Regions from separate parts of the Homo sapiens genome. Here region 1 is linked to region 2. Evidence: promoter capture Hi-C in 16 types of primary human blood cells and fetal thymus (Javierre and others, 2016). All regions are on one chromosome and are shown on one strand. The core of a region is centred on a gene start or on the middle of the fragment in contact, and the rest is flanking DNA. Distances in the headings are between cores, read along the strand shown. Region 1 overlaps CACNA1A (calcium voltage-gated channel subunit alpha1 A). Region 2 holds the start of LYL1 (LYL1 basic helix-loop-helix family member).

The links. Contacts are between HindIII fragments. The CHiCAGO score rates a contact against its expected background, and 5 or more counts as called.
Region 1: a fragment that was not itself captured here is called in contact with the fragment with the promoter of LYL1 in region 2 in 2 of 17 cell types (naive CD4 T cells and endothelial precursors); the score reaches 5.7 in naive CD4 T cells.

Annotation. Positions count from the first base shown.
Region 1 is chr19:13,259,621-13,262,406 of GRCh38, reverse strand. CACNA1A (calcium voltage-gated channel subunit alpha1 A) reads left to right here. Exons shown (of 47, transcript NM_001127222.2): 26 at 797-957; 27 at 2,706-2,786. Among named protein-coding and RNA genes, the nearest start is that of IER2, 110 kb to the right of the region's middle. RefSeq lists enhancers at 1,032-1,261, 470-1,669. The HindIII fragment of the contact is 4,266 bases long and covers 1-2,786 here.
Region 2 is chr19:13,101,607-13,108,355 of GRCh38, reverse strand. LYL1 (LYL1 basic helix-loop-helix family member) reads left to right here and starts at 5,498. Exons shown (of 4, transcript NM_005583.5): 1 at 5,498-5,825. It overlaps TRMT1 (tRNA methyltransferase 1), which reads left to right. Exons shown (of 17, transcript NM_001136035.4): 13 at 497-605; 14 at 706-782; 15 at 2,750-2,869; 16 at 2,960-3,089; 17 at 3,275-3,449. The coding sequence ends at 3,421. It overlaps LOC105372282 (a long non-coding RNA gene), which reads right to left and starts at 3,940. Exons shown (of 2, transcript XR_001753871.2): 1 at 3,712-3,940; 2 at 3,450-3,548. RefSeq lists silencers at 2,316-2,395, 5,116-5,725, enhancers at 3,756-3,815, 3,727-4,021, 3,956-4,035 and cis regulatory regions at 3,445-4,025, 4,825-5,745. The HindIII fragment of the contact is 45,459 bases long and covers 1-6,749 here.

The sequences.
Region 1 (2,786 bases), core at 287-2,786, 160 kb before region 2:
CCATAAAATTTTGACTTTTCATCTACCTATTCTAGGCTCTAGTATCTCCCATTCCAAAATAGCATGAACCAGCATTTCCCAAAAGCCTGTCATTCAAAAACATATATATATATTAAGGGAAATAAAATCCAGTCATTAGAGCACCCACTTTCACTCTATGCTTCACCTGGGGGTCCCCAGTATTATCTCTTATGTAATATGTTTCTTTAAATCAAGTCACACCCGTAATCCCTGCATTTTGAAAGACCAAGGCAGGAGTGTTGCTTGAGCCCAGGAGAATGAGACCAGCCTGGGCAACATAGTTAGACTCTGTCTCTACTAAAAATTAAAGACAGAAAACAGATACTGTTATGGAAATCTAACCAAATATGGCTGCCTGCCTAAGGCTTTGTGCATTGACAACTGCTCTTTCTTGGTTAAAGAGGGAAAATGTCAATGGTAGGTGTTAACATGGTAGCAACTAAGTAAAAATTTCTCCTTCACTCAAAAGGATTGAGAGAGTTGGAAAGGAAGTAACTTTGTTACCTTGTTTTTCTGTGTTGGGCTCCTGTATCACTTAAAAGCATCTCTGGTATCCCATCTGGGAGTTTTAGATCCATAGAATGCCAGGATTGAGTCCAACTCCTCCAACGCTTATTTCTGAAAGCTGGGGGGACCTTACCCTAGTGACTTGACTTATGACCTTGCCTGTAAAATGGGAATGATCATGGCAGTATTTTGGTATGATGGGCCACTGGAGGCAGAAGGTTGGGCAGGTCCCCAGCCCCTCATGCTCTCTGTCAACTCCACCCCACAGGCTGTGTTTGACTGTGTGGTGAACTCACTTAAAAACGTCTTCAACATCCTCATCGTCTACATGCTATTCATGTTCATCTTCGCCGTGGTGGCTGTGCAGCTCTTCAAGGGGAAATTCTTCCACTGCACTGACGAGTCCAAAGAGTTTGAGAAAGATTGTCGGTGGGTCTCCACTTTCCAGCACATTCCCATTGGAACCAGCAGGTGGGCAGGGGGGAAGTGGCTAGAGGCATTGGCCACTTGGGCTCAGAGACTGGAGAAGTGATGAGCCTTGGAAGTGACTCAGTTGCAACCAGCTTGGATCTTGGGTAGAAAGAAAACCGGTTTTAGAATTTGAGTCACCACCCAGAGCCACAGAATGAGTCATAAGCAAATTGATTGACCTTTCAGCCACCGCCTTTGTCATGTGAGGGATATTAATACACATCCACAGTTCCTTACTTGAAATCGTTACAGGCAGATGTGTTTCAAAGTTGAGAATATTTTGAGATTCCCATGTGGGACATGACACCCTCAGCTGGGTCTAAGGCAGCCCTATAATCAAACACAATATTTCTGCCATAAAATGTGTAACTATTTACATCAAATGGGGTAAATAACAAGTATAAAGAGCTTCATGTCCAATCAGATCAGGTTTCATTACCAAATAAGTTAGGTAAGAGGCCAGGTGCAGTGGCTCACACCTGTAATTCCAACACTTTGGGAGGCTGAGGTGGGAGGATCACTTGAGGCCAGGAGTTGGAGACCAGGTTGGGCAACATAATGAGAGCCCATCCTACAAAATAAATTTTAAAAGTTAGCGGGGCATGGTAGCACACACCTGTAGTCCCAGCTACCCGGGAGGCTGAGGCGGGAGGATTGTTTAAACACAGGAGTTCAAGGCTGCAATGCACTATGATGGTACCACTGCACTCCAGCCTGCGTGACAGAGTGAGACCCTGCCTCTCAAAAATATATACATATAGGCCGGGCGCAGTGGCTCATGCTTATAATCTCAGCACTTTAGGAGGCCGAGGCGGGCGGATCATGAGGTCAGGAGATCGAGACCATCCTGGCTAACACGGTGAAACCCTGTCTCTACTAAAAATACAAAAACCTAGCTGGGCATGGTGGCAGACGCCTGTAGTCCCAGCTACTTGGGAGGCTGAGACAGGAGAATGGCGTGAACCCGGGAGGCGGAGCTTGCAGTGAGCCCAGATTGGGCCACTGTACTCCAGTCTGGGCAACAGAGCCAGACTCCATCTCAAACAAACAAACAAACAAACAACAACAACAAAAATATATATATATATATATGTATATATATATATGTACACGCACACACACATATGTATTATATGTGTGTGTGTATATATATGTATGTGTATATATAGTGATATTGTTACCAGTGTAAAGTGGCATTTTGCAACACATGGTAGCCTGTTGTTATCTTGATGGCTATTTATTGAAATTAGGAGGATGCCAGATGTCTGGATAGGAGTCTGGAACTAACCCTTGTTTCCTGCCTTGAAAAGGAGTAGCAACCTCCCTTAGCCTGATGAACCTCTAAATGTCCCCTATGTCTCTCTGCCTCCTCCTAAACTCCCTCCACCCCACCCCCAGCAAGCCTGAGGCTCTCACCCTGAGGACTAGAAGTTATCACGTTGGAAGAGGGTGCTGGACCCTGGGTCAGCTCTCCCACCAGGAGTAAGGTTGTGCCATCACCCATGGATTTATCTCAAAGTAGATGCACACGTCATCCCCTATGAAGCACAGGAACACATGGTGGCAGGATGGGGAGTCACTGCTTCCCAAGCAGTCTAGGCTGGTGGACCACTCTTCCTTTCCCTCCCCCTGTCTCTGATAACCAAAGACAAGTGCAAGACAGCCCCTCTTTCCCATTTACTAACAGTCCCCACTCTCTGTGGCAGAGGCAAATACCTCCTCTACGAGAAGAATGAGGTGAAGGCGCGAGACCGGGAGTGGAAGAAGTATGAATTCCATTACGACAA
Region 2 (6,749 bases), core at 4,249-6,748:
TTGCATCATTGCACACCAGCCTGAGCGACAGAGTGAGACTCCACCTCAAAAAAATAATAAATAAGAAGGCCAGGCACGGTGGCTCACTCCTGTAATCCCAGCACTTTGGGAGGCTGAGGCGGGCGGATCACAAGGTTAAGAGATCGAGACCATCCTGGCCAACATGGTGAAACCCTGTCTCTACTAAAAATACAAAAATTAGCTGGGCGTGGTGGCACATGCCTATAGTCCCAGCTATTCGGGAGGCTGAGGCAGGAGAATCGCTTAAACCCAGGAGGCGGAGGCTGTGGTGAGCCAAGATTGCGCCATTGCACTCCAGCCTGAGCGACAGAGCGAGACTCCATCTCAAAAAAAAAAAAAAAAAAAAAAAGAAAAGAAAAGAAATGAACTCTGTAGCCATGAGCCCTTGCCGAAGGTAGTCTTACCTACGCTGGTCAGCTTGGGCTTTGGGGTCAAGGAGTCCGGCATCTCCCTCATAATCCCTGCTGTTCCCCAGGTCGGCCCTCCTCCACGCTGACTTCCGGGTCTCACTCTCCCACGCCTGTAAGAACGCTGTGAAGACGGATGCCCCTGCCTCTGCCCTCTGGGACATCATGCGTTGCTGGGTGAGGGCAGGGCTGACCTCATGCAGGTGGGAGGGCAGGTGGTGGTCACCTGGAGGTCCCTTGGGCCTAGTATTCCCTAACCTCTGACCTCTGCCCCCAGGAGAAGGAATGTCCGGTGAAACGGGAGCGACTATCAGAGACTAGCCCAGCGTTCCGCATTCTCAGTGTGGAGCCCAGGTAGGGGCAAGCACATGCAGGAGCGGCCAGGGCTGCCCACAGACATGGAAGCACATGTGTGTGCAGACAACACAGATGCTGCCCCACACAGACTCGTGCCCATTCTTCAAGTGAGATTCAAAATCTGCTGACTGGGGCTGGGTAGGTGGCTCACGCCTGTAATCCCAGCACTTTGGGAGGCTGAGGCAGGTGGATCACCTGAGGTCAGGAGTTCAAGACCAGCCTGGCCAACATGGTGGAACCCCATCTCTACTAAAAATACAAAAATTAGCTGGGCATGGTGTGGTGGTGGGTGCCTGTAATCCCAGCTACTCAGGAGGCTGAGACAGGAGAATCGCTTGAACCTGGGAGGCAGAGGTTGCGGTGAGTCTAGATCGCGCCATTGCACTCCAGCCTGGGCGACAGAGCGAGACTCCATCTCAAAAAGAATAAAAAAATAGCTGGGTGCGGTGGCTCATGCCTGTAGTCCCAGCACTTTGGGAGGCCGAGGCAGGCGGATCACGAGATCAGGAGATTGAGACCATCCTGGCTAACACAGTGAAACCCTGTCTCTACTAAAAATACAAAAAAAAAAAAAAAAAAATTAGCCGGGCGTGGTGGCAGGTGCCTGTAGTCCCAGCTACTCGGGAGGCTGAGACAGGAGAATGGCGTGAACCCCGGGGGGCAGAGCTTGCAGTGAGCCGAGATAGCGCCACTGCACTCCAGCCTGGGTGACAGAGTAAGACTCCGTCTCAAATAAATAAATAAATAAATAAATAAAAATAAAAATAACTAAATCTGCTGACTGGGCTGGGCGTAGTGGCTCACACCTGTAATCCCAGCACTTTGGGAGGCCAAGACAGGCAGATCACCTGAGGTCAGGAGTTCAAGACCAGCCTGGCCAACATGACGAAACCCTGTCTCTACTAAAAATACAAAAAAAAAAAAAAAATTAGCCAGGTGTGGTGGCACATGCCTGTAGTCCCAGCTACTCGGGAGGCTGAGGCAGGTGAATCGCTTGAACCTGAGGCAGAGTTTGTAGTGAGCCGAGATCGCACCACTGCACTCCAGCCTGGGCGACAGAGTGAGACTCCATCCCAAAAGAAAAGAAAATTAGCATTACCAGCATACCAGGGGTAACTTTTTGTCCATTTTGTTCACTGTCTATTCCCAGCACTGAGAACAATGCAGGCACACAGTCGTTAAATAAAAATGTTTATTAAGGCCAGGCATGGTGGCTCATTCCTATAATCCCAGTGCTTTGGGGGCCAAGGCGGGAAGATCGCTTGAGCCCAGGAATGAAACCAGCCTGGGCAACACAGTAATTAAGACTCCATCTCTACCAGAAAACTAAAAAAATTAGCTGGGCATGGTGGTACCTGCCTGTCGTCCCAGCTACTCAGGAGCTTGAGGCGGAGGCAGGAGGGTTGCTCAAGCCCAGGAGTTCCAGACTGCAGCTTTGATGGCGATCGCACCACTGCACTCCAGCCTGGGCAGCAGAGTGAGACCCTGTATCTTTATTTTATTTTTTTTTAGACAGAGGCTCACTCTCTTGCCCAGGCTGGAGTGCAGTGGTGCGATTTCAGCTCACTGCAACCTCCGCCTCCCAGGTTCAAGCGATTCTCCTGCCTCAGCGTCCCGAGTAGCTGGTATCACAGGCACCCGGCACCACGCCTGGCTAATTTTTGTATTTTTAGTGGAGATGGGGTTTCACCATGTTGGCCAGGCTGGTCTCGAACTCCTGACCTCAGGTGATCCACCCGCCTCAGCCTCCCAAAATGCTGGGATTTACAGGCATGAGCCACCGTGCCTGGCCGAGACCCCATCTCTTTAAAAAAACCAAAAATGTTTATTAGATGAATGAGAGAATCCTGACATGAGCAGACACCTCGTGCTGTGTTGTGGAGGCGGACAGGCCCTGTGGGGAGTGGGGACACACTCGTGTGGCAGCTTCCCCCAGCCCCAACGCCCCACCCCTGCTTCCCTAGGCTGCAGGCCAACTTCACCATCCGGGAAGATGCCAACCCCAGCTCCCGACAGCGAGGACTCAAGCGCTTCCAGGCTAACCCGGAGGCCAACTGGGGTCCCCGGCCTCGTGCCCGGCCAGGGTGAGTGGTGGTAAGGTGGGGGTGGGGCTCAGCCAGGGAAAGAAGGGGTAAAGGGCAGATGGGGTCCCACCTACTCCTCCCCTCGCACAGGGGCAAGGCGGCCGACGAAGCTATGGAGGAGAGACGCAGGCTGCTTCAGAACAAGCGGAAGGAGCCGCCGGAAGATGTGGCCCAGCGGGCTGCCCGGCTCAAGACATTTCCTTGCAAGAGGTTTAAGGAGGTGAGGTCCCTCCTCCCTTTCCTCCACTGCAGGACACATGAGTCTCCCCTTTGGGCAACAGGGAGAGAATTGGGGGAGCTGGGGCCAGGCAAGTGTTTGGGAGTGGGCTTCCCATCCCAGGAAAGGATCCCATCAGGGGCTGCTGAGCTCCGGGCAGGGGTTCACACCCACCATCTTCCCACCAGGGCACCTGTCAACGCGGGGACCAGTGCTGCTACTCCCACAGCCCCCCGACACCCAGGGTTTCTGCTGATGCTGCCCCTGACTGTCCAGAGACCTCCAACCAGACCCCCCCTGGACCTGGGGCTGCCGCTGGGCCAGGCATAGACTGAACCAATAAAGAGATGTCACGTCACCTTCTCCCGATTGCCTGTGGTTTGTGTATTGGTCCATACAGCTGCATGACTGGGATCTGTTCCTCTGGGGATCGTTCGCCCCTGCCTGGCTGGAGTGTTGAGTCTGTATGGGAGGTAGGAGCTGACCATCTGCACAGTGGTCGGCCCCTCTGCAGCGAGGGTCACTGAGCCACCCCAGAGCCGGAGCCAGCGATTCCCGAAGCGGCCACGGGGCGGCAGCTGTGCGCTCGCTCCCGCGGGGGTTCTGCCCCTCTTCCCCCTCCCACCTTCAGCGCTCTCCAGGCCACGGGCTTGCGCATAGTGGGGCGCTCCTGCCCGGTAGCCCCCACGTGTCTTCGCGCCGCTGCCTCCTCGCCGCCTGGTTTCTTTGGCCCAGCTCTCCAGGGGCCACAGTGGCGGAAGCTGGACCGGAACCAGGCGCCCTGTGCATCCGCTCCAGACCAGGTGCTTCCTGCCCTGAGGCCCGGGGCGAGGGGGGCGTGCACACAAAGAGGGACCTCGCAGGCTGCTGCCCAGACACCCAGTGAGGGGGAGCTGTACCCCTCCCTGCCCTCCAGAGTGGGGTTTAGTAACGTTAACGAAGAGTCCTGGGGCAGGATCCCCTCTCTGGCTCCTGCTCCCTTCATCCCCATCTGTAATGAGGCTAATCTTAGGACCCTCCTTGTAGCGATATCAGAGTTAGCGCTTAATTTTTTTTTTTTTTTTTTTTTTTTTGAGGCAAGGTCTAGGTGTGTGGCCCAGGCTGGAGTGCAGTGGCGCAATATTGGCTCACTGCAGCCTCCACCTCCCAGGCTCACGCCATCCTCCCACCTCAGCCTCCAGAGTAGCAGGGACTACAGGCACGCACCACCACAACCAGCTAATTTTTGTATTTTTTGTAGAGATGGGGTTTTGCCATGTTTCCCAGGCTGGTCTCAAACTCATGAGCCCAAGCAATCCGCCAGCCTCAGCCTCCCAAAGTGCTGGGATGACAGGCATGAGCCACCAAGCCCGGCCTTTACTGCATAAAACTTTAGTTCCTGCTTCTTTGGAGGAAAGCAATGGAGGTGTTGATCGTGGGGTCCTGGGCTCCACCCCATTCCTGGGCGGGGGGGGGGGGGGGTTGGTAGTCCTGCTGCTGGGTGCCTGCCTGCCTGGGGGCTCTTGCAGTTGCCCAGATACACAGACGGGCCAAAGCATGAGTATCACAAGTGGGTGGCAGTCTGGTAGCTGCTGCTGCCTGGCTGTGCCCAGAGCCTCTCCCTGTGGGAGGCTCCAGTAGGGTCTTGAGGTTTACCACCAAGCCAGGATAACTGCCCCCCATGAAGGGGCCGGGTGCTGTGGGGTGAGGGCCATGGACCACCAAGTTGGAGTTATGTGATCCTGTAGCCAAGAGGCCTATAGTTGTGGGGACCTGTTGGGCATCTACTGGAAGGTCACACCAGCCCCAGCACCCTAGGAAATCCAACTTCCCCACCCCACCCCTGACAGCCATGGCTCTTCCTCTCACCCTCCTGGGCTTGGAAATGTGTGGATACTGTGCTGAGGGCTTGGGACACCTGCCCAGGCTGGACACCCAAGGCCAGACTGTTAGAACTGTTCCCCTTTGGGTGCCCCACTCCCGGGTAGGGGTGGTGGAGAGGAGGGAAGGGCCTCTGTAAAAAGAGGAACCAGGCTGGGTGAGGAGAGGAGGTGGGGGCCCAGGGTCACGCGGCCCCAACGGGCCGGAAAGGGCTCTCCCTCACCCCCATCAGCACAGACATTCGGGCAGGGAGTGTGCAAAGCCAAAGGGCAGACTCGGACATAAGAGGAGGCAGCTTCCCTGCCTCAGTTTACCCCCTGCGTGCATCCAGGCACCTCCCTCCCCGGCTGCCCTGGGGCCCGGGTCCCCAGAGGCCCGGGGTCCCTACAGTGGCTGGGGGAGCGGAAGGCGAAGCCCTGAGGGGTGGCGGACCGAGTCCTGCCAGCGCCGGCTGGGGGCGGGGCCGGGAGGCCCGCGCTGCTAGGTCCCCGCCCGCTGGTTTCCTCCGGGGTCAGCCAGGCTCCTTATCAGGCGCGGCCAGGCAGCCTGGCCCTTATCTGCACTGGGCCAGCATCCTCCGGCCGCTGCGCCGCCAGGGGTGAGAGGGAGGAAACCGGGCCGCCGGGGGCGGGGAGAAGGCGGGCCGGCCCGGGAGCCGCTCACTTTCCCTGGGGGGGACCTACGCGGAGACCTCGGCTATCCTGGCCTTCCGAGGCCCACGAGGAGGCGCGGCCCAACGCCGGGGCCTGGAGCATTGAGGCCGGACCCTCGCGAGACAGCAGAGCCTGGCCTGACGCTGGAAACCACACCCTGGCCCAGACTGCCAGCCCTGACGGGACAGAGCCAGGGCACTCACCAGGCTGCAAGAACAGTGCTGGGGTAAGAGGGGAGCGGGCCTAAAGGTGGAGGATCCCGGGCCTGGGACCCAGCCTGCATTCCTTTGTTCATTCCTTCATTCATTCATTCACCAGCAGGGACCCACTAGTGAGGGGCCAGGCCTGCTTCCCCAGGGCCTAGCTGAGGAAGACAGGGCAGAGGGGCCAACAGTCTCACACCTTGCTGGGACATCCTGGACTCTGGAACCAAGAGCAAACAGGGATGTCAAAACAGTATGCAAAACTGTGGATGATCGCGGGGCATTGTGGTGCATGCCTGTAATCCCAGCACTTTGGGAGGCTGAGGCAGGAGGATCACTTGAGCCCAGGAGTTCCAGACCACCCTGGACAACAGAGTGAGAACCTGCCTCTACAAAAAAAATTTTTTTTTTTAAATTAGCCGGGCATGGTGGCACATGCCTGTACTCTCAGCTACTCAGGAGGCTGAGACAGGAGGATGGCTCGAGCCCAGGAATTTGAGGCTGCAGTGCACTATGATTGCACCACTGCACTCCAGCCTGGACAACAGAGGGAGACCCTGTCTCTAAAAAAATAAACAAATTTTAAAAAGCGTGGATGCTGATGAGGATGGGGGCTTCCAAGCCAGAGGGAGGGTTGGGGCATGACTGGACTGGACTGGGCAGTGGGGTCAGTGTTTGGGGGTCTAGGGTCAGCATTTGAGGTCATAGTGTCAGTAGTGGGGTCACAGGGTTGCTATGGGGGATGTTTGCAGTGGGAGTGGGGGTCACTCAAGCAATTATGGAGCACTTTCAGGGACAGCAATGGGAAGAACCGCAGGGTCATTCTTGAGGTGCAGAGGGTCAGCCTGGGTGGGGGCTGGGGGCCTTCCGTGAAGGGTCAGAGTCCATCTTGGAGGGATTCCAAGCTCACATGGCATCAATGAGTTAATGAGGAGTCTCTGGGTTGG